6 separate regions of the Homo sapiens genome follow, and all the other regions are linked to region 1. Evidence: promoter capture Hi-C in human tissues and cell types (Jung and others, 2019). All regions are on one chromosome and are shown on one strand. The core of a region is centred on a gene start or on the middle of the fragment in contact, and the rest is flanking DNA. Distances in the headings are between cores, read along the strand shown. Region 1 holds the start of ANO7 (anoctamin 7). Region 2 overlaps DTYMK (deoxythymidylate kinase). Region 3 holds the start of BOK (BCL2 family apoptosis regulator BOK). Region 4 holds the start of KIF1A (kinesin family member 1A). Region 5 holds the start of STK25 (serine/threonine kinase 25). Region 6 holds the start of AGXT (alanine--glyoxylate aminotransferase).

The links. The method cuts DNA at HindIII sites, captures the fragments that hold promoters and counts their contacts. A contact is called where the count stands out against the background at its distance.
Region 2: a fragment that was not itself captured here is called in contact with the fragment with the promoter of ANO7 in region 1 in 1 of the 25 tissues and cell types used here (pancreas).
Region 3: a contact is called between the fragment with the promoter of BOK here and the fragment with the promoter of ANO7 in region 1, in 2 of the 25 tissues and cell types used here (lymphoblastoid cells and mesenchymal stem cells).
Region 4: a contact is called between the fragment with the promoter of KIF1A here and the fragment with the promoter of ANO7 in region 1, in 2 of the 25 tissues and cell types used here (IMR-90 fibroblasts and spleen).
Region 5: the fragment with the promoter of STK25 here is called in contact with the fragment with the promoter of ANO7 in region 1 in 2 of the 25 tissues and cell types used here (IMR-90 fibroblasts and lymphoblastoid cells).
Region 6: the fragment with the promoter of AGXT here is called in contact with the fragment with the promoter of ANO7 in region 1 in 3 of the 25 tissues and cell types used here (IMR-90 fibroblasts, adrenal gland and mesendoderm cells).

The regions. Positions count from the first base shown.
Region 1 is chr2:241,186,654-241,191,704 of GRCh38, forward strand. ANO7 (anoctamin 7) reads left to right here and starts at 2,024. Exons shown (of 25, transcript NM_001370694.2): 1 at 2,024-2,113; 2 at 3,404-3,518; 3 at 4,541-4,598. The coding sequence starts at 3,411. LOC105373971 (a long non-coding RNA gene) reads right to left here and starts at 1,769. Exons shown (of 3, transcript XR_924064.3): 1 at 1,623-1,769. RefSeq lists enhancers at 1-98, 1,294-1,978, 1,979-2,662, 3,596-4,096, 4,097-4,597. The HindIII fragment of the contact is 24,444 bases long and covers 1-5,051 here.
Region 2 is chr2:241,677,920-241,682,970 of GRCh38, forward strand. It overlaps DTYMK (deoxythymidylate kinase), which reads right to left. Exons shown (of 5, transcript NM_012145.4): 3 at 2,310-2,400; 4 at 533-730. Among named protein-coding and RNA genes, the nearest start is that of DTYMK, 6.4 kb to the right of the region's middle. The HindIII fragment of the contact is 3,955 bases long and covers 1-3,948 here.
Region 3 is chr2:241,555,612-241,560,662 of GRCh38, forward strand. It overlaps BOK (BCL2 family apoptosis regulator BOK), which reads left to right and starts at 3,134. Exons shown (of 5, transcript NM_032515.5): 1 at 3,134-3,382; 2 at 3,844-4,092. The coding sequence starts at 3,873. It overlaps BOK-AS1 (BOK antisense RNA 1), which reads right to left and starts at 3,532. Exons shown (of 2, transcript NR_033346.1): 1 at 3,166-3,532. RefSeq lists silencers at 3,797-3,876, 3,907-3,976, 4,027-4,156. The HindIII fragment of the contact is 1,356 bases long and covers 2,163-3,518 here.
Region 4 is chr2:240,818,955-240,824,005 of GRCh38, forward strand. It overlaps KIF1A (kinesin family member 1A), which reads right to left and starts at 1,265. Exons shown (of 49, transcript NM_001244008.2): 1 at 1,168-1,265. RefSeq lists an enhancer at 1,677-2,251. The HindIII fragment of the contact is 12,815 bases long and covers 1-4,279 here.
Region 5 is chr2:241,505,583-241,510,633 of GRCh38, forward strand. STK25 (serine/threonine kinase 25) reads right to left here and starts at 3,002. Exons shown (of 12, transcript NM_001271977.2): 1 at 2,861-3,002; 2 at 2,424-2,553. The coding sequence starts at 2,453. LOC107985788 (a long non-coding RNA gene) reads left to right here and starts at 3,290. Exons shown (of 2, transcript XR_001739177.2): 1 at 3,290-3,515; 2 at 3,856-4,313. RefSeq lists enhancers at 135-671, 1,827-1,876 and silencers at 2,307-2,356, 2,637-3,406. The HindIII fragment of the contact is 21,130 bases long and covers 1-5,051 here.
Region 6 is chr2:240,865,311-240,870,361 of GRCh38, forward strand. AGXT (alanine--glyoxylate aminotransferase) reads left to right here and starts at 3,514. Exons shown (of 11, transcript NM_000030.3): 1 at 3,514-3,720; 2 at 3,860-4,052. The coding sequence starts at 3,556. RefSeq lists an enhancer at 3,033-3,533. The HindIII fragment of the contact is 24,692 bases long and covers 1-5,051 here.

The DNA of each region.
Region 1 (5,051 bases), core at 774-3,273:
TGTTACAGCCAAAGAAAGATGGTGCAGCAGATTCTGGGCCTGGGCTCTTCCCAAGGCCTGGAACCTGGCGGGCCCCCTGTGCTGGTTGCGGCTTTTCTCCCTCCCTCCCTTCCTTCCTTTCCCTCAGAAGTAACACAACTTGAAAAAACCACCCACCCAAACAGAGTTGTATGAAGTAAAAATGGAAAGACACTCCTCAGGGCCGAACCCCCTTTAGGTGTTGTGCGTGCACTGTCGCTGAAAGGGCTCCCACTGGGGTGTGGTCACCTCCAGCAGCCGGCCCTGAAGCTCTTGAGTAGACAGCCCTGAGGCCACCAGAGCCACTTTGTCACCAAGAGCAGAGAGCCAGGAGCTCCTGGGAGGTGGCATGTCTTCCTGGGAGGGTCCTTGGCCAATGACTGAGCAGAGTAAGAGCCTACAGTTGCATCCAGGTGAGGAAACGCTTCGTCTTGCCTCCCCTGCAGAGTGCCCATGGCAGGCTGAGGCCACCCTCCACAGGTCTTGGGGAGATGGTGCCCCGCTCATCCTCCCTCCCCTCCTGCCTCCCGACTCCTTTCCTGGTTTCTGGAGCACTTCCCCAGTCCAGCCCTCGTCCAGGGATCCACCTCAGGCGCCTGCAGGCTGAGCTTGGCCAAGCAGAGACCTCTCATGCAGATGCCCTGAGGCCCAGGGCCCCAAGGTCCTGCCGCCCAGGCTCTGCTGGTGCTGACAGGGAACCCGGCCTGCAGGGCCTTCCCGCTGTTCCGAGGCACAACACAGGTCCAAGAACAGGGCCCCTTGGGAGGTGCCAAGCACAGAGGGGCATAGGTATAAGGGAAAGCTGCAGCCAGGATGAGGGTCCGCCTGGAGGGATTTCAACAGGCAGAAGGGGGCACCTGGAACAGCAAGCTGAGCTTGGGGCTCCCCAGTGCAGTTGTGCATGGAGGGCGAGGAGCACGGGTGGTAGGTTCTCAGACACTGCCAGGCACCAAGGAGGAAAGGGGGAGGGGGAGGGAGAGGGGAAGAGGAGGGGCGGGGAGAAAGGATAGGAGGAGAAGGAGGAGGAGAGGGAGAAGTGGGGGGAGGGGGAGAAACAGGAGGAGGGGAGTGGGGAGAAAGGAGGAGAAGGAAGAGGAGAGGGAGAAGTGGGGGGGAGGGGGAGAAACGATAGGAGGAGGGGGAGTGGGGAGAAAGAGGAGGAGGAGGAGGAGTTGGGGGGAGAAATGATAGGAGGAGAGGGAGAGGGGAGAACGGATAGGAGGAGAAGGAGAGGGAGGAGTAGGGGGGAGAAACAATAGGAGGAGAAGGAGGAGAGGGAAGGTGGGGAGAAAGGATAGGAGGAGGGGGAGAAAGGAGGAGGGGGAGGAGGGCTAGGAGGAGAAAGAGGAGGGCTAGGAGGAGAATGAGGACGAGGAGGAGGGCGGAAAGGATGGGAGGAAGGCTAGGACCCCTCCTGTCCTTTTGCAGATGGGGCCCTGAGCATGGGATGTGCCTGAGGTCACCCCTCAGGCATTAGCAGAGCCAGCAGTGTGATCTGGGTCTCCCAATCTCCCCAGCCCCCGGGTGAAACCCTGGCCCACCACTCAGCACATGCTACGTAACCTCAAGGAGCCTCAGTTTCCCCCCACATAAACAGAGCTTACGAGGTCTGCCTGGCAAGGCTTCCAGCAGAGGTGGCACTTGTGGCTGTTCCTGTGGAATCCCACCTCCTCGAGACCCTCCAAGGCAGCAACTATGACAGCTGATGCCAGCCCTGAAATCTCTAAGCAAATAAGGTTCCCAGGAGGACGGCAGCATTTGCATGCGGGTGTGTGAAAGCCCAGCCAAGTGGGCTGCCTCTGTCTGCAGCTCTGAGCCCCACACCCCCTATTTAAACAAAGATAGATCCTGCTCCAGGAGCCGGGAAGCCTTGCCCTGGCCAGCTGTGCTGGGCACCTCCCCTGCCTGCTTCCTGGCCCACTTGCAGGCAAGGTGAGGGCATGCGAATGGCTGCCACTGCCTGGGCGGGGCTCCAAGGGCCACCCCTCCCCACCCTCTGTCCCGCAGTGAGGACGGGACTCTACTGCCGAGACCAGGCTCACGCTGAGAGGTGGGCCATGACCTCCGAGACCTCTTCCGGAAGCCACTGTGCCAGGTGGGGACCCAGCCTAGACGTGTGGGCCACAGGGAGAAGGTGGAGCGTTGGACTCTAGGGAGGCAGGGCGGCACCCCAGCCCACCGGGACTTTCACACACCCTGGCCTGTGGGGAGGCAGTGCCAGGGCCCGCCCTGGTCCCCAAAGCCCCTTGGGGCACGAGGAGGGACACACACTCAGTGCGGCTCTGGACGGGGTACACCCAGCTGGGGTTGGCTTCCTGCCTGCCCAGGGGCTCCCCCATGGAGCAGGTCCCTTCGTTGGGGTGGGGGGCATCCCCATTCTTTCTGCAGAGAGCTCTGAGGAGGGGCCCGCCTGCCCACCACAGAAGGATGGGGGCATGAGGGGCTGCTGGGTGGCCGAAACTCCTCGGGGACTTTCCTCCAGGAACACCCCACAGTCCGTAGTGAGGCTCCCAGCCTGGGGCCGGGGCCGAGTCCTAACACTGAGACCTGGCTCGGGCTTCAGGGTTAGGCAGGTGCAGGCGGCCCAGGCTCAGTCTCTGTCCCTCTGGGCCTCCGCTAATGTGAAGTGAAGGGTAGAACTAGAAGGCTGCCCCTCCGACCTCCTGCGGCGCCTCCATGGTCACACCCTCCGGTCATCGTCGCAGCTCCAAATGCCAGCCCCAGCTCGAACCCTCTCCTTCCAGGGCCACAGATGTCGTGCTCCTGGCCCCGTTTTGCCAGCCCAAGACTAGGAGCCACGGCACCTGTCCTCCCACAGAGAGAGACCCCCGGGGCGAAGGTGCGGGAGGAAGCTGGGACCCCCAAGAGTTGTGAGGCCGGGCTCCATCAGGCCCGCCTTGCTGGGGAGCTCAGGGCCTATGGGTCCTGGCACTGGGTCCTCAGGCCATGAGCGAAGGCAGGCGACTTGAGGGGTTTCCTGTCCCTGGCTCACATGGCTCCACCCTACGGATAAGAGAGGGAGAGGTGTCTGTACTCCAGGCCCACCTTTCTGGGCCTTCTCAGGCTCCACTGAGTACCCAGGCAGAGTGGACGGCATTCAGGGCTGGGGGACACGGGCACTCACTGGATGGACAGACAGACGCCTGCTGTGCCAGGCCTGCCAGACGCTCCCGCCCCGGCACTGGTTTCTTCCTGGAGCTCGTGGCTGGCTAGGGGGTTCTCCATGTGCTCATGGCCAGGAGAGTCTGCCGAGCCAGCCCAGCCCCATTCTACTCCGAGTCGAGTCTGTAAAGTGAGCTCACTGCAGGCAGTGTGGTGGCCCCAGGAACGGGTCTCACCCATCCCCTCTCTGACCCCCATCCCCACCCGGCCTTGCTGGGTGCAGGAGCAGGATGCTGCGGCGACGGGCCCAGGAAGAGGACAGCACCGTCCTGATCGATGTGAGCCCCCCTGAGGCAGAGAAGAGGGGCTCTTACGGGAGCACAGCCCACGCCTCGGAGGTAACAGCACCCAGGAGACTGTGGTGCGACTTGAGAGGTCCTCCCCTGCCTGGGTCTATGCCCCCACCCTGGGCCCAGAGCCTCTGGGGGTGGATGGGCATCACCGTGTTTCTCCTGCATCCCCCGGCAACCCCCAAGCCCTCGCCACCCAGTCCTCAACACACACAGTCAGATCACCGCTCTCCTGGCCTGGCCTGGCTGTGGAGAACCGAGCAGAACCCACTGATGTTCAGACAGGAGCTCCAGGAGGGTAAGGGGGGCCTGGCCAGGCAAAGGCAAGACCAGGGCGGGGCCCTCCCTGTGGTGTCAGTCCCAGTCAGTGCAGGGCCACAGCAGCACCCAGGGCCATCTGTAGGGCTCCACCTTGTCACTAGGAGGCCATGGATGCGCTGTGAGCCTGTGGGGAGAGGCTGGGTCCCGGGCCTTCAAGGCCATGCGGGAGGCCCTGGCCGTGGAGGGCCCTCTTCCTGGTTCTCCTGGGCCACACGTCTGCCCCAGCAGCCTGCGGGTGGACACGGGACCCCTTCCTGCCGCCCCAAGCACAGCTGAGATGAGCCTCCAGGGAGGGCACAGGGCCTCTCACCTCAAGCATCCAGACACTCTCGGTCGCCATGGCCAACTCTGTCCTCAGGGCCCCTTTGGGAGCAGTCCGGCTCCCCTCTGCCCCTGGAGGCCAGCAAGGCAGGCACCCCTGGTCCTGGCCATGCTTCCCGCCAACCTGACCCTTGCCATGGGCCTGGCCCAAGGAGGAGGGGAGCCGGCTGGAGGCCCAGGGCTGGTGGTGCCCTCTGGCCCTGCCTGCCGCTCCCCGCGCCTGCGCATCCTGTGCCCCCACACAGCAGAGGGGCTTCCCCCTCCACCCCCTACCCACCCGCCGAACATTCTTCTGTGGTCCTGAGTGTTCTGGGGCAGGGCGGGGACGGGTTGGAGGCGAGGACGGCTTCAGGGTGGGGCGGGGTGGGTGTAGTTGTCGAGGGCAGATGCTGATGCTGATATGCTTCTCCATCCTCCATGCCTTCCAGCCAGGTGGACAGCAAGCGGCCGCCTGCAGAGCTGGGAGTCCTGCCAAGCCCCGGATCGGTGAGCCCCTCCCAGCACCTGTACCACACCCGTGTTGGTCCTGAGGGTGGGGACACCACGGGGGTGCCCCCAGGGGCAGCAGGCTGGGGTAGCCTCCTCAGTAGCCACTCTGGGGCCAGTTGCTTGGGGATGGGGCACTGGGGTGAGGGCCTCGGGGTGAGCAAACCACAGTGGGAAGAACAGCAGGAAAGGGGGCTCCCTACTGATGGGGTGGGGCCGGAAGGGCTCTGGAGAGTGGACAGGGCTGCCCCCTCCCTCCTGCTCCAGTCCCCTCCACCATCCTCCAGCTGTTCAGCCACAACTCAGGTCATTTCTGACTCTTATCTCTTGCACTCCACCCCTTTTGTACCTTCAAAATCTCTTTGATCCACCCCCAACCCACTGCCTCTGTCTGCCCGGAGCTACCACCGACTCCAGGGGATTGCACCAGCACCAGCCGGGCTCCCAGCACCC
Region 2 (5,051 bases), core at 721-3,220, 490 kb after region 1:
TCACCTGACCCACCAGACAAAGCGCCAAATGTCAACATTTAGCAAAACTCATCGGGTTAGAATTTGCTGGCACTGGCCGGGCGCGATGGCTCATGCCTATAATCCCAGCACTTTGGGAGGCCGAGGTGGGCAGATCACCTGAGGTCAGGAGTTGGAGACCAGCCTGACCAACGTGGAGAAACCCCATCTCTACAAAAAAAATTAGCCAGGCATGATGGCACGTGCCTGTAATCCCAGCTACTCGGGAGGCTGAGGCAGGAGAATCACTTGAACCCAAGAAGCGGAGGTTGCAGTGAGCTGAGATCGTGCCATTGCACTCCAGCCTGGGTTGGCACCCAGAGCAAGATTCTGTCTCAAAAAAAAAAGAATTTGCTGGCACCGAGAACCCCTGAACGACTACTCCCGGGGCTCCACATCTGGGAGGACCAGACGGAAACGGCAGCAGCTTTGCTGACACAACTGTGCCAGCCACCACGGTGTCATCCTGAGCCACTTCTCCACGCTTCCTAGTGTGCAATTCTGGGATTCTCACCTTCCAGTTCAAAGTCGTGTCTTTCATGAGCTGGTGGAAACACCGGAGCGCCCGCTCCTGGAAAGCCCCGTTCTCATAGCGCTCATGGCCAAACGCTCCCCGCTTGGCAGCATCCGCCAGCTGTAACTGGAGGAACAGGACCAGGTCGGGTTTGGGAAGGCCCACGTCTGGCTGTTTACACCAATCTAGGGAAAAATTCTGCCAAGAAAGAACCCAACAGTTAAAGCTTAGTGTAGTCTAGGTTTTTGTTTCGAAAGTCGTAAAAACAGGAAAAAATGAGGGGACATTTGGTGAGGTACCAAGATGTGAGACTGTTTATATTGTGGCTCGTTTAATTTTTAGAACCTCAAACGTGTCGGTTTCTCCAGTGTCACCTTTGTTTTTCCTTTGTAAACAGACAAGTGGACAGAAAAGTAGGTAGATAGAACGGCTGCCAGTCCCCGCCACCCACAGCCCAGGCCCCATGGAGGCCCTCCCAGCACAGCTACAGGCCTGCTGGCCAGGAGCAAACAGTCTATGTACAGAACCCCTGGAGACCCCCGGCCTAGAACGCCTGCAGCACAGAGCAGCTGGGTCCGGACACAGGCACGAGGTCCTTGGCAGTGTCTTTTCTGCCACACACACGCCAGGGTCTCCTCTCCCGTGGAAGAGCAGGAAGAAGACAGGCACTCCTAGAGCCTGTTATGTGCCAGCCTAGTCTCATCCACTGGCCCTTCTTGCCAGGGCTGTGCCAGCACCCTCTCTCCCTCCCTTACTCATCCCATCTCCCTCCAAATGCTGTCCTGTTTCCGGAGGAAAGGTAGGACCAGAAAGGCTGTGACTGCAGGCCACACATCACACAACAGCACAATGAGCTGAGGGAAGGCGTCCACGAGAACCTCCCACAGAGCCTGCGGCTCTGTCAGCTGATCCGCACAGCAGGAAGAAGCAAAGGAATCATGAGTCTTGTCCTCCTTATTATACAACGTAATACTTCAGAGGGGAAGGACTCAAGCTAACACATGAAGAAATGGCAGAATTAAAAAGTGAGGGCGTGGCCGGGCACGGTGGCTCGCGCCTGTAATCCCAGCACTTTGGGAGGCTGAAGCGGGAGGATCACTTGGGCCCAAGAGTTGTTATAGCGAGCTTTGCTTGTTCCACTGTACTCCAGCCTGGGCAACAGAGGGAGACGCCCTCTTTCAAAAAACGGGGGAAAAAAGTACTACAAATGAACCATCTTTGAAAATGCATCTGGAGGCTGGGTGCAGTGGCTCATGCCTGTAATCCTAGCACTTTGGGAGGCTGAGATGAGTGGATCACTTGAGGTCAGGAGTTTGAGACCAGCCTGGCCAACATGGTAAAACCCCGTCTCTACTAAAAGTATGAAAATTAGCTGGGCACGGTGGTGCATGCCTATAATCCCAGATACTCGGGAGACTGAGGCAGGATAATCGCTTGAACTCAGGAGGCAGAGGTTGCAATGAGCTGAGATCGTGCCACTGCACTCCAGCCTGGGTGACAGAATGAGAGACTGTCTCCCCAAAAAAAAAAAAAAAAGCGTGTGGAAAATATAATCCAAATACCAACTATGGTTCTATCTGTGAAACAATCTCTAGCTACATAAATGTTTGCTCTTCTTATTGATAAAACCAAATTAATCTAGCAAAGAGATAAAAGGAATATAAGAATCACGAAACTCTGCAGAGTAATCTGAGGCATGTCACTCGTACTCGCATTCAAGGGCAGTCCTGGGTCCACACATCTGTGCTCGCCTGACAGGAGGCCAAGTGGCACTCACCTCCTTGGCACCGGTGAAGGCCACACCAGAAAATGCGTATCTGTCCACGACGAGGGTCACGCCCTGGCTCAACTTTTCCTTAATTAACGGCCTGAAAAAGAGGATGCTCCTGAGCCCTGGTCCTGTTTCATAGGCCTTGAACTGTCAAGCTTAAATTATCCCAACAGGCTGTGCGCAGTGGCTCACCCCTATAATCCCAGCGCTTTGGGAGGCTGAGGCGGGCGGATCACAAGGTCAGGAGATCGAGACCATCCTGGCTAACATGGTGAAACCCTGTCTCTACTAATACAAAATATTAGCTGGACATGGTGGCAGGCACCTGTAATCCCAGCTACTCGGGAGGCTGAGGCAGGAGAATTGCTTGAACCCAGGAGGTGGAGGTTGCAGTGAGCCGAGATCACACCACTGCATTCCAGCCTGGGTGACACAGCGAGACTCCATCTCAAAAAAAGAAAAAGAAAATTATCCCAACAATACAACTCAGAAATCTCATATGACAACAAGTACAGCACAGTGATTTGTAACCTTACTTTTAATCCAAAAAGGTCTGGATCTTCTCTAGAAGATGCCATACCCACACCTCCAGCAAAACCCAACATGGAGAAGATAACCTTACTAAATAGTAACAAACACAACTGGTAAAGTTCAATGTTCCAGAAACACGGCAGGGGAAAGGAGATGCACTGTCAGCTGTCTTGGTCAGAGAGGCCAGCTCTACCCTGTCGAGGAAGAAGAAAGCACAGGCAAAGAAGAGAGCAGAGGATGGTGGCGGGGGAAGCGTGGGCACAGCCAGCAGGTGACTCATCCATGCTCATGACCCCTAGCCTGGACTGCAAGGATGTTCTCAGCCAAATACCACAAGTCCACCATCATCCCTACAGCTGCCAAGATCACAGATGTACAAAGACACGGGGCCTGACACTAGTGAGAAGCACTGCTCAAGACAGAGAAAGAAAAGTCCGATTCATTCGACTCAGCCAGTCTCACTGGGGCCTTCAAATCACAGGGGCACCCACATAAGGAGTCAACTGGCCTCTGACAAAGCAGCAGAGGGATGCAATGGTGCAAAGGCATTTTCCTCAATAAACGCTGCTGGAACAACTGGACATCCTCATGAAAGAGAATAAATCTAGACCAGACCGTATACCCTCCACGAACATAAATTCAAAATGAATCACAGGCCTGGCACGGTGGCTCACGCCTGTAATCCCAGCTTTCAAGGAGGCAGAGGCAGGAGGATTGCTTGAGCCCAGGAGCTCGAGACCTGCCTGGGCAATATAGTGAGACCCCGTTCTCCACAAAAAGTGGGGGAAAAAAAAGACAAAATGAATCACAGACCCAAATGTAAAATGCAAAACTATGCAACTCCTAGACAGTAACACAGGAGAAAACTTAGATCACCTGGGGTTTGGCAGACTGTTTAGATACAAAACCAAAGGCACAGCCCATGAGAGAATTGATTAAGATGGACTTCACGAAAATAATAACTTTGTGCTTTGTGAGAGACACTGTCAAGAGAAGGAAAGGACAGCCGGACGTGGTGGCTCATGCCTGTGAGCCCAGCACTTTTGGAAGCCATTTGGCGGGATGGATCCCTTGAGGCCAGGTGTTTGAGACCAGCCTGAGTAACAATAGTGAGACCCCATCTCTACAAAAAATGTAAAAATTAGCCAGGGATAGTGGCACGCACCTGTAGTCCTAGCTACTCCAGAGGCTGAGGCAGGAGGATCACTTGAACCCAGGAGTTTAAGGCTGCAGTAAGCTGTGATCATGCCACAACATTCCAGCCTGGGCAACAGAGCAAGACATTTCTCCTAAAAAAAAATAAGGCCAGGCAGGGTGGCTCATGCCTCTAATCACAGCACTTTGGGAAACCAAGGCAGGAGGACTGCTTGGGTCCAGGAGTTCAAGACCAGCCTGGGCAACAATAGTGAGACTCCATCGCTACAAAAAATTTTACAAAAATTAGCCAGGTGTGTTAACGTGCCTATAGTTGCAGCTACTTGGGAGGCTGAGGTGGGAAGATCACTTGAACCCGGGAGGTCGAGGCTGCAGTAAGCTGTGATTGCGCACTGCACTCAGCCTGCATGACACAGAGACCCTGTCTAAAAAAAGAAAAGAGAGAAAGAGAGTGAGAAAACAGAAAAGGCAAACCACAGCCTAGGAGAAAATATGTATAAAAGACACATTTTATAAAGGACTGTTATCTAAAGCATACAAAGAATTCTTAAAACTCAAAAATAAGAAATCAACCAACCCCCTTAAAAAGTGGGCCAAGGCTGGGCGTAATGGCTCATGCCTATATTCCCAACACTTTGGGAGGCGGAGGCAGGCTCATCACTTGAGCCCAGGAATTTGAGTCCAACCTGGGAAACATGGTGAAACCACATTTCCTCAAAAAATACAAAATTGGCCGGGCATGGTGGCTCGTGCCTGTAATCCCAGCACTTTGGGAGGCTAAAGCAGGTGGATCACCTGAGGTCAGGAGTTCAAGACCAGCCTGGCCAACATGACGAAACCCCATCACTAACTAAAAAATAGAAAAATTAGCCGGGCGTGGTGGTGGGCACCTGTGATCACAGCTACTTGAGAGGCTGAGGCAGGAGAATCGCTTGAACCTGCGAGGCGTAGGTTGCAGTGAGCCAAGATCGCCCCATTGCACTCCAGTCTGGGCGACAAGAATGAAACTGTCTCGAGGAAAACAAAAAAGAAATACAAAACTTAGCATGGTGGCATGCACCT
Region 3 (5,051 bases), core at 1,884-4,383, 370 kb after region 1:
GGTGATCCACATGCCTCAGCCTCCCAAAGTGCTGGGATTACAGGCATGAGCCACCACGCCTGGCACACTTAGGTCATTTTCAGTTCCTTACTGCTAGCAATGTTCCATATTGAACATCCAGAGACACAGCTTTACCTGGTTTCTGCAGCTCCTGGGATGCAGAACATGTCTATCAATTATGCCCAGTGGCCCACTACCCCCATGTCAGAGCCCAGGAGACGGCTCCAACAGGAGACAGGAAGCAGGAAGTATGAGTTCATTCTGCACAGGAGGAAACTGAGCCTGTGAATGGGGCAGGAAGTTGCCTGAGGCTACACAGCGGGAAGGTTGCAGGTGTGAGCTTCCTGGTCTCCTGCCTGCAAGTACAGGCTCTTCCCCTGACAGAGGTACTTCAGGAACCATGGAGTTAGACCCCAAGGTTTACAGTCTGGCCATGCCCAGTCTTGCAGTGACTCCTTGGGCGAGATCTTTTCCCTCTCTGCATTTCTGTAATGCTATCTACAGGGAATCCCAAACCTGACTGCTCTTCAGAAATCTGAGGCGCACACTGTCCAAGGAGCTCTAGACTCTACATTAAAGAGTTCATTAAAATGCACCCTCAGATTTTACTGTACTACAGCTTTTCTGAAAAAGCAGCTAACAATGACTGAGCACTTACTACATGACATGGATTAAGAATTCAGTCCTCCCAGGCTGGGCGCTGTGGCTTACGCCTATAATCCCAGAACTTTGTGATGCCAAGGCAGGTAGATCACGAGGTCAAGAGATCGAGACCATCCTGGCCAACATGGTGAAACCCCCTCTCTACCAAAAATACAAACAATTAGCCGGGCGTGGTGTCAGGTGCCTGTAGTCCCAGCTACTCGGGAGGCTGAGGCAGGAGAATCGCTGGAGCCCAGGAGGCGGGGTTGCAGTGAGCCGAGTTTACGCCATTGCACTCCAGCCTGGCAACAGAGCGAGACTCCGTCTCAAAAAAAAAAAAAAAAAAAAAGAATTCAGTCCTCTCAACAATCCTAGGAGGTAGGTATTATTATTCTTCCTACTTCCCAGACAGGAAAGTCATAGCAGATAGAAGTTCCATAGCTTTCCTAGCTTCTGGTAATGTTCCTGACAGGTTTCGGTATTAAAATTACATTGACCTCATAAAATGAGTTGGGAAATACTCCCTCATTTTTAGTCTCTGTGCAGGTTTGTATGAGACTGGTGGTATTTTTTTAACTGTTGAGAAGAATTTCTCAATGAAACCATCTGAACCTAGAATTTTCTTTGTGGGAAGATTTTAAATTACAGATTCAATGCATTTAATTGGTGTAGGACTATCCAGATTTTCTATTTCTTTTAGTGTCAGTTTTGGTAAGTTGTGTATCATCTAAAATTTCAAATGCACTGTCAAAAAGTCCTCCATACTATCTTTTTATCCCTTTAATGCTTGTAGTATCTACAGTGATGTCCTCTTTTTCATTCTTGATAGTGAAATTTGTGTTATCTTTTTTCTTACTCAATCTTTCTGGGGATTTATCAGTTCTATTAATCTCTTCAAAGAACCAATTTTTGGCTTTGTTGATTTTCTCTATTTTTTGCTTTATTCCATTAATTTCTGCTCTTATTTTTATTATTTCCTTTCATCTTTAGTTTTATTGTTCTTTTCTAGCTTCTTGAGTGGAAGCTTAGAGCAGTAATTTTATTTTTCTTTTTCCTTTTTTTTTTTTTTTTTTGAGATGGAATCACACTCTGTTGTCCAGGCTGGAGTGCAGGTGGGATGATCTCTGCTCACTGCAACCTTCGCCTCCCAGGTTCAAGCAATTCTCCTGCCTCAGCCTCCTTAGTAGCTGGGATTACAGACACCTGCCACCACACCCAACTCATTTTTTGTATCTCTAGTAGAGACGGGGTTTTCACCATTTTGACCCGGCTGGTCTCAAACTCCTGAGCTCAGGTGATCTGCCCACCTAGGCCTCCCAAAATGCTGGGATTACAGGTCTGAGTCATTTCACCTGGCCTAATTTTCAATCCTTCTTCTAAAGCTATCAAATTTCCTCTAAGCAGTGTTTTAGTTGCACTGTACAGCATTTGATATGTCTTATTTTTCACTGTTCTTGTCAACATATTTTAATCTTCCACTGTGATTATTGACCCATTGATTATTTAGAAGTGTGACATGTAATTTCCAAGCATTTGCAGATTTTCCAGTAATTTTTCTGTTATTGACTTTTAATTCAGAGAGGACACACTGTAAGATTTCAATCCGTTGAGATTTGCTGAGACTTGTATAAGGTCCATGATATGGTCTATTTCGATAAACATCCTATGTGCACATGGGAAGAATAAGTATTTTATAGTGTTGTACACACGTGAATTAGGCCAAGTTGGTTAATCCTATTGTTCAAACTGTGTGAGGTTGATTCAAGGATAAAGAAATAAACCAGTGGGATAGAGTTCCGAGACACACACACACACACACACACACTCTTCAGCTGATTTATGTTGAGATGTTGGGGACTCCTCCAATTCGGTGGAAAAAAAATGATGCTTTTCAATAAATGATGCCAGGTCAATTGGATATCTACACGAAAAAAAATGAGCTCTAGCCCCGTACCACACCATTCACAATAATTAATATGTAATCAATCATAGATCTAAATATGAGCCCTAAAACAAGCTTCTAAAAGGAAATACAGGAGGATATCCCAATAAAAAGGTACTAACCATAAAGAAAATATTGATAAATTGGACATCACTAAGAGTAACTCCTGTTCATCCAAAGCAAAAGTAAACCACAAAATAGAGGAAGATATTTGCAATAACTTCAATAAATGCGAATCCAATAATCCATCTACAATACAAAGGGCATGCGTCCGGACCAAGAACACGTCTCCAGACTCTGGAAAGAACCTCTACGAACGAAGAAGACAACCCAATTTTCAAATGGACCCCGGGGAACACCCAGGCGGCTGGGGCTGGCTCTAGGTCCCCACTGCTCTGCCTTGCGGGGGCCGCTCCGGCCTGGTCGCCTTCTCCGGGCGCATCCAGGGAACTCGCTCGGTCCTCCTTAAGCGGGGAAGCTCGGAAAGCGTCTCCCCGACTCCGCCCCCAGGGTTGCCTTTCCCTTAGAAGGCCAAGCCCCAAGCCCAGCCTCTCGCCAGCTGGGAGTCGCGCGCTGCCCACCTCGCTGCCCAGGCCCCCGACGCCGCGGCAGGAGCCCCCCAAGAGCGCGGGAAGCCCCGTGGACCTGGCGCTCCCGGCTCGGGCGTGGACGGGGCGGGCGCCGGGGCGGGGCGCGCGTCCTCGCGGGTCTGAATGGAAGGGTCGAGGTCGTCGTCGGCGGCGAGCAGATCCTGAAGCCAGAACTCCACCCCGGCGCCCGCGCCATGCGGCGGGAGAGGTGAGCGCGGCGGGCGTGGCGTCCGTGCCGGGGTGCCCGGGGTGCCACGGGAACGGCGAGGCCGGGGACACGCGCGCAGGACGCCAGCGGCGGAGGTGGGCGGCCCCGGGCCGGGGCGGGGAGGGCCGGGTCCTGGCAGTCGCCGTGGGGGACGCGCTGGGCTGTGCCCTCCGCCCCCGCCGCCCACGCACTCGTCTTCGAGGGCGGGCCCGGCGGCCCCGGAGCAAACCGCCGTCTCCCCGCGGCCCCACCGGTCCCTGGCAGCCTCGGGGAATGTCTGTAGCTGAATTCGGGCTCTGAAAGAAGGTGGCGCTGGGTTTTTAAAGATTTGGGGCACAAAAAACGAGAGCGGACCCGGCGCCGGCTACGGCCCTTCCCGAGGGCCACGCCCAGCCCGGCGCCCCGCGCGCCCCGTTCCCCGCGCCGCCTCCCTCCACCCGGCTGAGCGCTTGTGCCCGCAGGTGCGGCGCCCCCCACCCGCGTCGCCGCCATGGAGGTGCTGCGGCGCTCCTCGGTCTTCGCCGCCGAGATCATGGACGCCTTTGACCGCTCGCCCACAGACAAGGAGCTGGTGGCCCAGGCCAAGGCGCTGGGCCGGGAGTACGTGCACGCGCGGCTGCTGCGCGCCGGCCTCTCCTGGAGCGCGCCCGAGCGTGCCGCGCCGGTCCCGGGACGCCTGGCTGAGGTGTGCGCGGTGCTGCTGCGCCTGGGTGAGTGCGCCCTGGTGGGATCCCCAGCTGCGCCTCCTCCCCTGCTGGGCCGCAGCCTCCCTCCGAGGCCGAGATGGGGGTCCGGCCCAGGGGCGCCCACCCCCTGCCTGGGACGGCCAGGCGCTCGGGACAGGGCCACCCAGGCGGGTGCTCCCGGATCTGCCCTCTCAGGCCTCCCACGCCACAGGCCCCCCCATCAGCTGCCTGCTCAGCCCAGATTTCAGTCATGCTGGCCATAAACAATAGAAAGCTCCAGAAAGAATAATCTATTAGTGGGTGGCTAAGCTTCCACAGTGACCCTTGTTCTCAGCTGGGCACAGAAACCCTTTGTAGGAGCACGTGTCCCGATGTTTATTTTGGAAAACAGATTCTTGCTGTTACTGGCCGAGATCCCGCCCGCTGCCCTCTGGATTCCGAGGCCTCCGAGGCCCCCCCATTGGAAACTGCGCCCACCGGGCTGGGTAGCCAAAACCTCAGTATTCGTTGGTGCTGTGAGGACATCTGGGGGTGCTCGGTTCTGGGGTCACACACGGTCCACTGGCTGCCCCCACCGTCTCCAAGGTCTGGACCCAAGAGGGAGGGACCAGCCCCACTGTGACTGTCCAGTCCCCTCACCACAGCTGGGCTGTGGCCGTCACCTGGGAATGTTTATGTGATGCCCGAAGAGGGCACATGGGGCGCCTGTGGCTGAGCCCGGGAAGGGGAGGTGACAGCATAGGTGAAACTGAATCGGTGGCTCTCCAGGCAGGGGGTTGGAGTCGGAGGGCACGACCCCGTGAGGGGACACGCTGCCTCCTCTCAGGCTGGCGCTGGCATGGGCTCTAGGTGGCCCCTGCCCTTACGTGGTGGGCTGGGCCCAGAGAGCAAAGCTGTGTAGACCTGGCCTGCCCAGGAGTGTGTGTGGGGTGCAGACAGAATCCATGGGGACCAGCACAGAGCCTCCAGGAGGAGGTGGAGTC
Region 4 (5,051 bases), core at 15-2,514, 370 kb before region 1:
GAAAGTCCCTATTCCCGGGGACGTGGGCGCGCATCGGGTCCGCGCCGGGCGACGTCGCGCTCGCGCCCAGCAGGCCCCATGACTTGGCATTCCCTCCTTCCCCTCCCCCTCCCGCCCCTGCGGCCGGCAGGGCCCCCCCAACCCCACCTACCGGCGCCCAGCGCCCCGCTCCTGCGGACCCTCCCTCCCGGCGGGGATGCTGCCCCGGCCCTTCCCAGCGAGAGGGCAGCGCGGCTGGTTTGGGGGAAGTCAGCGTGAGGAGCGGCTTAAAGCGGGAGTGCGAAGGTCTTCGCGGCCACTGTTCCTTCGTGTCATCCGAGCCCGGGCGCCGGGGGCGCGCCGCCAGCCTAGACCCTGCGGCCCCGCAGCCCCTCCCTCGCCGCCGGGCCACACCTGTTACAGGGGCGCTGGCTGCTGAGACGCAGGCAGTGCTCGCCGGCGGCCCCTCCCAGGTGCTGGGTCTTTCTGGAAGGGAGCTGGGGTCTCTGGCGTGGGAGGGGGTGATGGGCAGGCCGGCCGTGCAACGAAGCGGGTGGCCAGGCCCCAACGCCGCAGCCCCCGCCCCGCCCGCCTGTTTTGCTCCCGGCTCCAGCATCCGCCCTCCCCCACCCCGGGAACCGGAGCAGCTGCCCGCGCCCGGCCGCCCTGCGCGCTCTCCCCTCGGGCCGAGGCGCTGCAGCCGCGCACCCTCCCAGGTGCGGCGTCAGCGTCCTCAGCCCCGCTCACCATCCCTCCCCTCCCCCGCCGTCTGGGCGCAGCCCCTCCCGCAGCCCCGCCGGTGGCTCCTCTCCAGGGAAGCGGAATAGCCGGGGAAGGGCGGGGGTATCCCGATCCCGCCGGCCGGGCGAGCCCTCCCGAGGGCGACCCCCGCCCGCCTAAGCCGAGGGTCCCGCTGCAGCCGAGATCGCGGCAAAGGGACCTTTTCCAGCGGCACCTGAAGGGCGGACACCCCTGAATTTCCCCCATTGTTCTCTGCGGAGATGGAGGAAGGTCTGGAAGTGAAGGGGCCTCGCAGTGCCTGCGCTTTGGGCGGCAACAAGGGCGCCGGGCCGGAGCTCCCCGCCCTGGGCGCAGTGGGTGCAGGTGCGGGCTGCGGGCGCGGGCTGCCGGGCGCAGGTGCGGGGCGAGGGGCGCGGGCGCGGGAGGCCGGGCGGGCGGCGGCCTTACCTCTCCGGCGTCACTGGCGGCGGCCCCGCATGGGCACTGGCATGGGCGCGGGCTCTCGAGCCCGGAGCTGCTGCCGCTCGCCGGCTGCTCTGCGCTGTGACGGCGCCGCCGCGTGACGGGCTGCGCGCCCCCGGCCCGGACCGCCCCGCGCCCCTCCCGAGGCGCTGGTTGGCTGCGCGCGGCGTCCGAGCTCCAGTCGCCAGCTGGTTTGTCGCGCGGGGAGAGGGACGGGCGACGCGGCCGCCGCGGGGATGGGGCTGGGGACGGAGGGGGCCGGGGCCGGGCTGTGACGTCACCGCTGACACCGCGGCGGGCCCCGCGGAGGGTGGGGGACCGACACCCGGCTCGGACGCAGCGTCCCCTCCCCCGGCGTGCCCCTGAGACCTCGCGGGGGAGGGACCCGGCGGCGCCCCGTCCCGAAGCCCCGCGTGCACCTGAACTTGCCCGCGGACCCCTCGCCGGGCCGTCCCCCACCCTGGCCCCTTTCGAGTGAAATCGTAAAACGTCCACCTGCCCCCGCTCTGAGCCAGCGACAGACGCATCGTGGGGGGCGGGCGGGGCTGGGGAGGGAGGGCTCCTTGCGCCAGGGATGCTGGCTCCGGGTGTAACAGGTGCGCGGTGAAATCGCATCTTGTGTCGGGGCCGGGGCGCCGGGGGAAGAGCAGCAGTGACCCAGGCCCTCCCCGCCGGATGATGCAACCCGCCCGCGGACCCGCCGCCTCGCCTCTACCGCGGCTCGTGGGGACCCCCCGCCCTCCTCTCGCCCCACCTCTCCAGGCCCCCATTGTCCTCACCCCAGCCTGTCCAGTTTAACTTCCTTGGACCCCCAAGTCACACGCCGCTCGGGGGCCACCCCGGCAAACCCCAGCCTGCGTCACCCGCCCCCAGCCGCCTTCCTAGTTCCAGGGGCTGACTGGTATCTCTGTGCGCGCCACCGTCCTCCCTCCACCGTCCCAGGGCTGGGCAACTTCGACAAAGCCTCTGGGCAGCTCGCCCATGGGAACCTCCCCGCACTGCGGTGCGGGGGTGCACGGATTTCGGGCCACCCTGAACCCCGGGGCTGGGTCCCCTCCAGCCCAGCCCCTGCCATCGAGCCCCTGCCATGGGCATCCTGGCGTCGCCTGGCTAAGCCTCCCTGGCGCCCAGCAGGGGCCTGCGCTGCCCTAGCGGCCTCGCCGTTAACCATTTCATCCACACTCCTGGGAGAGCCGGCTTCACCTCAGTCCCGACAGCTGCGTGCGAGCGCCTTGCAGGTGGCTGGGGGAGATTCACATCCACTTCTGCAAGACACGGGCCCCCCACTCCCAGCCCCAGCCCCGCCGAAACCAGCTAGACAGCTCCTCCTCCTTCACTATTTCCTGGAACCGCCGGCATGAAAGAGAAATCAATTGTTCTTCCTAACCCTGGCAGAAACAATAAAACCATCTGGGCTTCTGGGGCTGGGGTCTTTATCACCTCCGTTTTCCTCATGCTTTTTAATCTGGCAAGTTCTCTATTTCTCGAGGCAATAGACATTTTTCTAGGAATTAATCTATTTCACGTTAATATTTAAATGACTAGCATATCTTTTTTTCTTTATATTCTGGCTTTTTATGGTTTTGTTTGTTTGTTTTGACAGGGTCTTGCTCTGTCTCCCAGGTTGGAGTACAGTGGTGCCATCTTGGCTCACTGCAGCCTCAGCCTCCCCAGCTCAAGCAATCCTCCCACCTCAGCCTCCCTAGTAGCTGGAACTACAAGTGTGTGCCACCACGCCCAGCTAATTTTAGCATTTTTTGTAGAGACAGGATTTTGCCCTGTTGCACAGGCTGGTCTCAAACTCCTGAGGTCAAGCCATCCACCCACCTCGGCATCCCAAAGTGCTGGGATTACTGGCATGCATTTGGCCTGTATTTTGTTTTTTGCATTTTTCTCTTTTAATATTTTTAAATATTTTCAGAGCTCCAACTTTTAGTTCTGTTAAACGTCTTTCCCGTTATTTCATTTGCTTCTGTCTTTCTGTATTATTTCCTTCCTTTGTGGTTCTTTGGATTTGATCTGTTCCTCTGTCTTGAACCAAATGCTTAGCTCCTTTTTAAGCCTTCTGATTTTCCAATAGATCTACTGTATTAAAAGCTACAAAATTCCTTCTACAGAACTGTCTTGGCTGAGTCTCACAAATTTGGACATAAAATGTTTTCATTATCATTCATATCTAATATTTTCTACTGTTCCTGATGATCTCCTTTTAAACCCAGGGTTATTTAATAATGTTATTTACTTTTCAATAGTGTTTCTTTAATTATAACCTTTTGTTACCAGGTTCTAATTTAATTGCATTGTTGTCAGAGAACAAGTCTGTATTCAGTCAAGATCCTGGCAGGAAGCAGATGGCACACTCAAATTGGGTAATTTGAGAAGGGTTTGATAAAGAGACTATTGATAAAGGTGTGGGCAGGAGGTCGGAGAGCCCCAGGGGCTTGGTGGCACTGCAGCCTTACTGCCTGCAGGGAGCGGGGCGGGCAGAAGCAGAGGCTCAGGTGGAGGGGTGCAGCCAGCCAGAGTTTCCTAGGAAGGGAGCCAGGGCAGCAAACCCTGGACCTCACTCTCCCTCTTCCCCTGATCTGGTAGTGCTTTGGCTGAACCCAAGGGGAAGCTGGAGGTCAGGGGCACCCAAGGAGTATGGTGCATTTCGGGTGGTCTCCTGAAGAATGGGCAAAGGGAACTTAGAAGCACAAACAGAAACTAGCTGCCCAGTCTGCATGGCCCTGTGCCTCTGGAATTCATTGAGGCTTCTTTAGGTCCTAACACATAGTCTATTTCATACATGTTCTACCTGTGTTCAAAATGGTTGTACTCTCTGCTTGATGGGCAGAGAGTTCTCTATATTATGTATTAGTTCAAAATTATTAATTCTTGACTCAGTAAGGTAAGATCCCAGATAGAAAAGCTTTTTAAGGTTATTAATCATTTTGATCAGGATTTGGAGATTTCTGCTAATTTTTGTCAATGTGAACTATGCTTATTATTTTTTAAAATTTCCAGTTAGAATTGTTAAAATATCTGCTTCTCCCAGCAGTTCCGGCACATGTTGCTTGCTGTGTATTGTGGCCATATTTTTAGATATTAGAATGATTGTGATAGACATGCATTATCATTCTGTGGCTCCTTGCGCCCATATGTATGTGTGCCCTTCTTTGTCTGGCGTTTGGAGTTTTTAAATTTTTTGCCTTAAATTTGAATGTCATACATTACATGTCAATCCAGTTTTCTTTGGTTCATATTTGCTTGCTATGTCTTTTGCCAACTTTCTTATTTTAAGCTTTTTGTATCTTTTTAAAGCGTATCTCTTTTAGGCAACCCATTGTGTAAATTTTTAAATGTAATCTGTCTCTGCCTTTTAATTGGAATTTAACCCACTTACATTTACAGCAATTACTGTTATATCAAGACTAAGCTTTGCTGCCTGTTCCCTGACTGCTCCTCATCAAAGACAGAGTCTGAGATACCAGTGCTGGCCCCTCCGTCCCACTCAAGACCCCTCCGACGGGCAGCTTTATCAGGGACACCCATCAGCTTGGCCGAAAGCTTCTGGGAGGGGGACTGCAGTCTGAGACTCTTCCTACCCAAGCCCCTTCCTTCCCTGTCTCTTTTGCAGGCCTCAGACCTGCCTCAGGATCTGAAGCTCTTCTGCCTGCACCTGCTCCCTCCCCTCTATCCTGCATGGGCTTACTCCCAATCACCACTCGCCCCTCCTCTAATGCCACAGAGACATGGACTGACATGGATCCCCGGGGAGCATGTTTTTCTCTCCAGCTGGCCATATTCCTTGGGCGTCGAGTGACTCTGGCCTGTGAGCGCCCAGTGGTGTCGGGACAGCAGCTGCTCTACTGGCAGCCTGCAGTGGG
Region 5 (5,051 bases), core at 1,752-4,251, 320 kb after region 1:
ACAGGGCCTGGAGCTGAATCTGCTCCATCACAGCAGCCCCGGTAGGGAAACCCCTGGGTGGGCACTCAGACCTCTACTGCTTCACAGCAGGGGAGCACAGCGGACCCCTAAGCCAGAGCCAGGGCTCATCAGCCCAAGCAGAAACTGTGTGACAGGAACCCTCTTGGCTGTGATCCTGGCCCTACAATGACATCGCAGGCCAAGCCAAGGCAAGCCATCCCCACCCCCACCTGGAGAAGAAAGGGTAAGTGGGCCCCTGGCCTGGAGGCTGCGAATCCTCTTTTGGATGTAGCAGCAGCTGTGGCCTGGATGATCACTCGGGCCACTCAGCTGACTCGAGCGGTGGACACCTGTTCTCCACATTAGCCCTGGGGCTGCCAGGTCTGGGGCCTCCACTTGCCAATGTGTCTGCTGTCAGTGTTGCCCCACAAAACAAGGGGAATGACCCAGCACACATAGCTGAGTGGTGATACAGTGCTCTGGCACCCCACAGCCATTCGGGCCCTCCAGGGCCAGGCAGGAACTGGCCAGGTAGAGGGGAGAAGTCTAAGGCAGGAGCACAGGCTATGGGGGGAACGCGCCCCACTCTCCCACAAAGGGGCTGCCCCACAGGTCCACAGGACACCATGGCAACCATCTCAGGAGAAAACCACAGCCCCTCAGGTTTTCTGCCACTATATGAAGTCAAGTCTCTCATCATCCAGGCTGGGACAAAGGGATCCCTAAAAGGACAAAAGGAGCTTCCTACCTTTGGAATCCCTTCTCCAATGTGCCCGCACTCCCTTCCCTGTGTGCGATCGCACCAAGAACCAATAGCACACAGTTACAGGGCACCTCGGAGCTCCAATTTCTCATCCTGTGACCCAAAGGAGTTATTTCTGCAGTTCTTAAAAATAAACTGGTGGCCGAGCGCGGTGGCTCATGCCTGTAATCCCAGCACGTTGGGAGGCCAGGGCAAGCAGATCACCTGAGGTCAGGAGTTTGAGACCAGCCTGACCAACATGGTGAAACTCCGTCTCTACTAAAAATACAAAATTAGCTGGGCATGGTGGCGCATGCCTGTAATCCAAGCTACTTGGGAGGCCAAGACAGGAGAATCGCTTGTACTTGGGAGGCAGAGGGTGCAGTGAGCTGAGATTGCACCATTGCACTCCAACCTGGGCAACAAAAGCGAAACTCCGTCTCAAAAAAATAAAAATAAAGTAAAATAAACTGGTGGCAGATTTTTCTCCCAGCACCTTAGTCATGTAAGTTACCAGATACAGAATGCCAAAAGCAAACCAAAAATCTGTTAGCTTAATTCAGCAACAGTCAGCAAGCCCCAGTCTCATCTGTGACCACGCAGGTCCAGGTTGCCTGGCCCAACAGCTGCACATGGTGTTCCGGGTCTCTAGGCTGGTCCGGTTTCCTCCAAAGCAGCCCTGACTCCAGTTCCTGCCCCTACGCGAACAGACGCCCTTCCTGTTCCACTGCAGGCCCAACTCTCCATTCAGCACATAGGAGTGAACAAGGAGGGCCACACATTTTAGCGGCGATTCCAACGCCTTAGGTAGAGCCAAGGCATCAAGGAGAATAAAACCGAACAGCTAAGATGTAAGAAAACCCAGCGGCCAGAGTCAAAAAAGTGGGGAGGGGTAGAGAATGCAAGTCCCCAGGCCCCAGGTTGGCTGACCCCACCCTCCTTCCCCGGCAAGCCCTTTGGCACCAGCAGCTGGTCCTCATTCCAGGCTAAGGGCTCGCCGTAGTGGCTCCCTCCGAGGCTGTCCCACCAGACGCTTAAAGGTGGCTCCATAGTGGAAACGACTTCTTTAAAGAAGAAAGATGAGTCTCATGTTCGGGCAACCGCCCGTCGCAGGGGTTAAACGGTCCTGACAGAGCAGCCTTTTCACCCTCCCCTGGGCCAAAGCACACACGTGTTCTCTGCTTTCCCTGCACACCGGCCACTCAGATCTGCTTCTCCACAATCTCAGCCCCTCAGCGCCCGCCAGGGTCTCCCCTACAGCCCCTGCCCAGCCCAACACGGCCAGAATGACCCGCGGCCCAGGCCGAGGCCGCAGGGTGGCCCCCGACCTTCCACTGCCTTCGGATGCTGACATGAGGTTCCCGCCCCGCGCTGGGGGCAGCGCCCCGTCCCTGCGCCGGTGTCTCTTCACGCACCTCCACCGCCCTCGCACAGGCGGAGCCACCAGGGGCTCGGTTTCTAGAGGCCTGCGAGCTTCTGCCACGCAAAACGCCACAGGCACACGGCAGAGCCCCGGGGCCGCCCTGCGCCCACCTCAGGACGGCTCCGCTGGTCGCACGACGCGCGCTCCTTCCCTCACCCCACTGCCCGCTCCGGCGTGGCGCTCCCCTCTGAACCCCCAGGAGACTCTGGAGCCCCTCGGTGAGAGGCCGCTAGTCTTCCTGACCTGCACCCTTCTCACCTGGTTGGCAAATCCCCGGAGGTGAGCCATGGCCGCGCCGCCTCAGACCCTCCGCCAGCAGCCCCAGGAGGCGTCTGGATCCCGCGGAGAGGCGCGGAGCCGGCTAGCTCGCCCCTGCGGCGTCAGTCCACTGCGAGGGACACCAGGGGCGCTCGGTGCCCAGTTCAGTCATCTGAGACCGACCTCCGGGGCGGCGGGCTCCATGGGTGGGGGGGGGCCCAGGAGACCCCCCAGGCCGCCGGGGCCCCGCCACGCCCGGGCCTAACGCCCAGGCTCCCGGGGGCTCGCCGCCCCTCCCGTCGCCGCCCCCACCTCTTCCAAGGCAGCTTCCTCCCGGTGCCCCCGCCCCGGTGTCCCCGCCACCGAGCCCCGCCCCGGGCCCCTCCCTCTGCCCCCTCCCCAATCGCCGCAAGCGCCCCGCCCGGCAGCGCGCCCACCTCCGCGGGGCTCCATCCCGGCCTCCCCCGGCCCGCTCTGCAGCGCCCGCGAAGGCTCCCACCCGCAGCCTCTGTTCGCCCGGGGACCCCGGGCCTCCCAGCCCGCGAAGCAACGGTGGTGGCGGCAGCGACCGGAGAAAGCCCGGAGGCGACGGCGAGGGCGGTGCTCGGCGTCGCGGCCCGCGCACGGCTCTCTGGGACCCCGAGTCCCACCGCCCACTCCGGGCCCGGAAGCCTGCTGGCGTTGGACTACAAGTCCCGGCAGGCTGCGCGAGAGGGGGCCGGGGCTCGCATGCGCGCCGCGAGGCTCTCTGGGACCCCTAGTCCTGCTCCCGAAAGGTTTGGACTGCGTCTCCCGGCAGGCCGCGCGCCTGGGCGGGCGGGGCACGTGGTCGTTGTCGCGTCGCGCCCTCCCTGCCTCGCCCTCGCGGGTCTTCTGCGTTTGCTGGCGCCTGCCAGGCGTCGTCTCCGACGTTACGGCGGCCGCGCGGCCCTCTCCCTTGGGCTCTGCCCTGCGCAGCCCTGGTTCGAGCGGGCCAGTGAGGCCCGGCGCCCTCCCCGCCTCGCCACGAGGATCCACCGCGGCCGCCCAGGCTTCTAGCCTTGTCGTCACGGCACGGAGATAAGCCCGCGCTGGCCACATCGCGAAGCCCCTGTTCGTACTGAGACCCCGCCCGGGATCACGCGCACAGGCCAGGGCGCACCAGGCCTTGGAGAAGCTACCGGCACAGCCCATTCCTTGGGCGAGTTGCTTCGCCTCTCCTGCCTCAGTTTCCTTACCTGTCAAGGGGTGGTCATAGGACGTCCTTGGTCACACCGTTGTGGGACCCACCTGGGCTAGAGCGCGGGACGCGCCCAGGACAGTGACTGCTGCTGGAAGCCGTCATGGCACTCCCCAGGGTCCGGGAGGGACTTGCAGATCCCAAGGCTACCTGGTGCGTCCCCGTGCCCCGTGGGCCGCCAGGTCATAGTGCCCCCTGTGTGCATTCCCCTAGTGCACCGCAGGGATCCCCACCTGTCCGGTGAGGAAGATTTGTCCCTCCTGCATACTGTGTCCACCCTTACAGGCCCTCACTCTCCATGATGGCTCAGCACAGGTGACTATCCTGACCTCCTCACATCCCTCCTTCTTCGAGAGGGTTCTGGCGTTTCTCTCTGCTCCCTGGTGCGTGTCTTCTCATGGTGCACTGCCGAGTCCTTTAAGAAGCTATGCTTCCCTGTCATGCGTCCAGGACAGCCCCTTGAACCCCTCCTGGGTCCGCATCTCTCATCACCCCTGCTTCTTTACGTACTGACTTGGCTTTGTTTGTGCTTTGACTCCCCAGGAGAAAGTGGGCTTCCTGCAAGCGGAGCTGTGCCCAGGACCATGCCAGCCCACGGCAGGCGCTCAGTAATGTTTGTTGAATGAATGTGTAAATGCATGAAGATAATATATGTATTTAATGCATGTAAATAGATGCCTGCTGCATCTCTGGCCTTCGTGTGGTCAGTAATCGCTGCACTTTTCCGAAGTGCCTAGAAGAGGCTGGGAGCAGTGGCTCACACCTGTAATCCCAGCACTTTGGGAGGCTGAGGCAGGCAGATCACTTGAGGTTGGGAGTTCGGGGCCAGCCTAGCCAACATGGTGAAACTTCATCTCTACTAAAAATACAAAAATTAGCCAGGCATGGTAGTGCGTGCCTGTAGTCCCAGCTACTAGGGAGGCTGAGTCAGGAGAATCGCTTGAACCTGGGAGTTGGAGGTTGCTGTGAGTCAAGATCATGCCACAGTACTCCAGCCTGGGAGACCGAGCAAGGCTCTGCCTCAAAAAACAAATTAATAAAAGTGCCTAGAAGAGTTTTTCAGCCTTTGCCTGCTTTTGGCCAATTGTTAACCCTTTGCTCCTGGCTGCTGTCTTGCTAAGCTGCCGTCCGGACGTGATCATCACCATGTCTTTTCCTGCATTGACCTTCCAGGCCCTTCATCCCGTTTCTCTTGTTTTCCATTTCTTTTTTGTTGTTGTATACTTCTGTTATTCTTCGGGGTTTTTGTTTGTTTGTGTGTTTGTTTTGAGACGGAGTCTCACTCTGTCTCCCAGGCTGGAGTGCAGTGGTGCGATCTTGGCTCACTGTAACCTCCGCTTCCCAGGTTCAAGCGATTCTCCTGCCTCAGCGTCCTGAGTAGCTGGGATTATAGGCGTGCGCCACCACCC
Region 6 (5,051 bases), core at 2,264-4,763, 320 kb before region 1:
TCCTTGAATTAGAACAATGAGACTCCTTTTTTCTTTCTTTCATGTTTTTCTCTTTATCTCTCATATAAAAACTTCCCAATCCTCTTGGTTTGACAATATCATCTTCAGCATCTCACATGCTATTGTGAGAGGAGAAAATACTCTGTGTGGCTGGCTTTGCCGTCCACAACCTGCTACTCCAAGCCATGTAGATTCTTCTTCGTAAGCACACCCTGTCTCCAATCAAACTGTACTGTTGGGATTTCATTATTCTTCTCACCACTCCTTCCCACCCCGACCATTTCCTTCTGTGCTGGTAAATTGGAAACCACCTCCCTCTTCGTGCTATCATATTACTTCCCCCACCATCCACACTTACAATATCACTGAAACTTCCTTAACTTGTAATGTTATTTTGGGAGGTACACCTTGTTATAATGACACTCATGCAGCTAACTTTGACTCATTTGAGGCCTTCGCCTCCTACAATCAAAACTCTGACTCTGGCCAGGTGCGCTGGCTCACACCTGTAATCCTAACACTTTGGGAGGTAGAGGTGGGTGGATCACCTGAGGTCAGGAGTTCGAGACCAGTCTGACCAACATGGTGAAACCCTGTCTCTACTAAAAATACAAAAATTAGCAGGGCGTGGTGGCAGGTGCCTGTAATCCCAGCTACTCAGGAGGCTGAGGCAGGAGAATCGCTTGAACCCAGGAGCAGAGGTTGCAGTGAGCCAAGGTCACACCACTTCACTCCAGCCTGGGCAACTGAGTGAGACTCCATCTCAAAAAAAAAAAAAAAAAAAATCTGACTCTATCTCATCACTGCCAATTTATAAGCCGTTAAACTGGACCAGTATAGTGGGGCTCCCAGTATACAGCACCCCTGCACTCCTAATACCTTCATGTATGTTACTATAATGATGCAACCAGTGCAGGAAATAACCACCGTGCCACCTGGTTTACATCCTATGCCATGCACTGGCACCCGCCTGCTTTTAAACCTCCTCCATCAGTACATAAACATAGTCTTTCCCCCATATGAGTCCTCTTAAAACTGTCAAAAGGCCCATTTCCTTTTTTCCCAACATTTTAATTAAAATAATCATCCTGCCCCTCCTGGGCTCTTATGGCTTAGCAGCCCCACTAAAAACTATTTAAACCCTTTTCAAGCTTTGGCCCTATCCCACCTTGATCATTCTCTTCACTATGGTGATTGTAGCCTGGGAACAATAGCTCCCACCCAAATCACTGTCTTAAACATCACTTCTAATTCAGAATTCCCTTCTAGAAGGAAAAGGGCCCTGGGACTTACTGTGGCCGGAGTTGTGGGAACTATCACAACTCTTACCCCTTGGGGAGGTTTTACTTACCAGGAAATCACAAGTAAGAGAACCTACCGCCTCCCTTGAAATAGCAAAAGCTGGCACCCATCTATCAGCTCTACAAGTCATTAGACTCACAAGCAGGATTTTGGTGTCTGGTAACAGGTGAGTTCTGGATTACCTCCTAGCTGAACAAGGAGGGGTCTGTGCTGTCATCAACAGGACCCGTTGCACCTACATTTATGTGTCTGGAGAAGTGGAAACCGATGCCCAAGAAATCATCAAACAAGCCAAATGGCTACACACACTTTCCCAAAGCAACCAAGACTGGGCCAAAACTTTTACTGATTGGTTTTCAAAAAATCACTTGGCTTCCCCCATTCCTTAGACCTTTATCTTCTGTCATTTTTCTTTTAATATTTGGTCCCTGCCTTTTTAATGCTCTGATTGCTTTTCTATGTTCTACATGAGAACAATTCCACCTGCAGAAGGCTATGCATTCCCAACACTGGCCTGCAACTGCAGCTCGATTTACATGGGGCTTCTTGATGGAAATACCGGCCTGCAACTGCAGCTCCCATTTACGTGGGGCTTCTTGATGGAATCCCATCACGTGCCTCCGTGCACAAGTTTTCATGACCCTTTATTCCCTTCATGACCGAGAGCAAGAAAGGGAAAAACGTGACCTACCCCCCTGAACTCCCTTTCAGCAGCAAGTAGTCAGGCGCACTGGACACCCCTCTTCACTGTGCCGTTTCCCCTTTCTTGAGACCCCAACAGGAAGCAGGTGGACATGAGCATGGCAGAAAAGGAAGGGTCAAAGATTTCACCAAGATATTTGTCAGAGGGAAAATGAGGACAGCAAAGATCACCTGGAGACCATCAAGCAGGCCCCAGGTGGGGTGGGTGGAGGGGAGCCTCTTTATTTGAGAAATGTAGAATGAATTAGACTTCCCTATTATCTAAAGTTGGCACCTGGTTCCAGGCCTCTTTTCAACCTAAAACTTATACATAACTAGAATTTCTATACATCTCTGGAATGCAGCATGCTGAAACTCACTGTGCAACCCCTGCCTTGTGTGTGTCTGTATACCATGCAGGTTTGCTTGCTAAATTGAGCCTGTAAACCAAAAAGTACCTCAAACAGGTCTCAATTAATTTAGAAAGTTTTTGTTGCCAAGGCTAAGGATGCACCCGTGGTACAGCCTCAGGAGGGAGGACATCCTTGCCAAGCTCAAGGGTGCACCCCTGACCACAAGGGCCCAAGGTGGTCGGGGCACAGCTTGCTTTTATACATTTTAGGGAGATATGAGGCATCAATCAATACATGGGAGATTTACATTGGTTCCATCTGGAAGGGCGGGACAACTTGAATTGGGGGGCTTCCAGGTCATAGGTAGATTTAAACATATTTTGATTGGCAACTGACTGAAGAATTATTATCAGCAGAAAGGAGTGTCTGGGTTATGAAATAGGGGTTGCAGGGAGCAGATGATGCCTTCAGGTAGCGGGATTTAGAGAGAAAATAGATGGTAAATGCTTCCTATCAGACTTAAGGTCTATGTCGATGTTAATGCTGGGGGTTATGATGTGGCATGGCCTGAACGTCTTCCGGGTTAAAGTTTAGAGCACCCTGGCGGACAGGGAACCCCATTCAGATGGTTGCTGGGGGGCCTTCGAATTTTATTTTTGGTTTACAAGCCTTCCCATCAGCTGCGCCAGGGTCAGCAAACCACAGTCCATGGGCCCAATCTGGCCTGCCACCTGCTTTTTGTAAATAAAGTTTTATAGGAACACGCCCACACCTCTGGCAGCTGCTTTGCAAGCACGCAGCAGGGTTGAGTTGTTGCAACATAGACCACAGGGCCTGCCAAGCCTCAATTATCTGTGCTCCGACCCTTTAAGAAACACTTCTCTCACCCCTGAGCTAAGCAGAATAAGAGGGGCTGGACGTGCAGGACTCAGAGTGGGAGCGAGGAGGGCTGGGGTGAGGACAGCTTTGTCACACTCTGTTTTTCTGTCACTCAGCCCTGGGGGCTCCCTCTGCCTGAGGGCTTCGTCCCCTGCTGCCTGGCCGTGACCCGCAGCACAAGCACAGATAAGCCTCAGGGAACAAAAGGCAGGGCTGCCACGGAAGCCCATCCACCAATCCTCACCTCTCACCTCTGTGTCCGCCCTGCTGGGAAATATTCCAGGCTTTGGCCAAGGCCAGTGCAGCCCCAGGTTCCCGAGCGGCAGGTTGGGTGCGGACCATGGCCTCTCACAAGCTGCTGGTGACCCCCCCCAAGGCCCTGCTCAAGCCCCTCTCCATCCCCAACCAGCTCCTGCTGGGGCCTGGTCCTTCCAACCTGCCTCCTCGCATCATGGCAGCCGGGGGGCTGCAGATGATCGGGTCCATGAGCAAGGATATGTACCAGGTAGGAGTGGGGGTCACTCGGGGGGCCTGGGTCTCACCCATGTTCCCACCCACAGATCGTGGACGAGGGAAGGGGGTCACTGCCTCCTCACTTGGGGAGGCGGGGAGCCTGGGTCTCACCCTATACCACCCGCATGCAGATCATGGACGAGATCAAGGAAGGCATCCAGTACGTGTTCCAGACCAGGAACCCACTCACACTGGTCATCTCTGGCTCGGGACACTGTGCCCTGGAGGCCGCCCTGGTCAATGTGCTGGAGCCTGGGGACTCCTTCCTGGTTGGGGCCAATGGCATTTGGGGGCAGCGAGCCGTGGACATCGGGGAGCGCATAGGTAAGGGAGAGGCCCAGGTGGGGATGGCCCTGGATCCATCCTTCAAGGCCTCCCTGGCCTCCCTCTGTTTGAAGCTGGCAGCCCCCGTTCCTGGGTGAGCGCTTACCCACCTTGTGGCCCTGTGCGCACGAACCTCCTGCCAGCCCACTGCCTCCTCCAGGCGGTGTCGGGCACTCATGAGGCCTGACTCTGATAGGGCTGGGAGCAGCACAGGTGCCCCGATCCCCCCAGTCTCCTTGAGCTGTTTCTGGAGCATGTGCAGGACGGAACTACAGGGAAGCCTCTGGTCCCAGCACACACTCCTGAGAGCCCCGGCCGCTGTCCAGGGCCCCAGGCACCAGCTCTGCTTTGTGACAGGGTGGGGTTTCAGAAGCTGAAGCCTCCCCTCAAATCTCAGCAGCCTTCCTTCTGGAATCTTGATGTGATACACAAAATATGGAGGTATGGGCAGAGTATTCGCCTCCGGAGTACACTTTTCTGGGAGAGACACAGGAGCAGGAGTGTGCCCTGGGTTTAATGATTGATTGTGGCATTGAGGGACATCAGCTTGGTGAGCTCCACAATGGCCATGCTGGTTAATACGCGACCGCAACAGCCAAGAGGGTCCCAACCCCAAGTCCACAAACTTTTCAAGGGGACCCAGGGTCGGCAGAGGCCAGGACCCCAAGTGGACATCAGGGCACGCAGGCTCAGATGCCTGTGGTATATGGCTTCCCTTTTCCCCATTCTGTCCCCTTGGCCGCAGGTTCTTCCCCTCCCACAACCTGGCCCTGAACAGCACACAGGATAGGGCAGAGACAGGGAGGGGGTGAGGGCCTGATTCCTGGAGTCCCCAGCTCCAACAGAGGTCAAGGCTGCTGCCTCACTCACCCCTCATCCTTCAGTCTGTCATCCATCACACCTGTGGTGTGCCAGCCCTGGACCAGGTACACTCTTTGTGCCAGCCCTGGGCCAGGTGCAGCCCTGACTCCCGGGAGCTCACTCTCTGCTTGGGGAGGC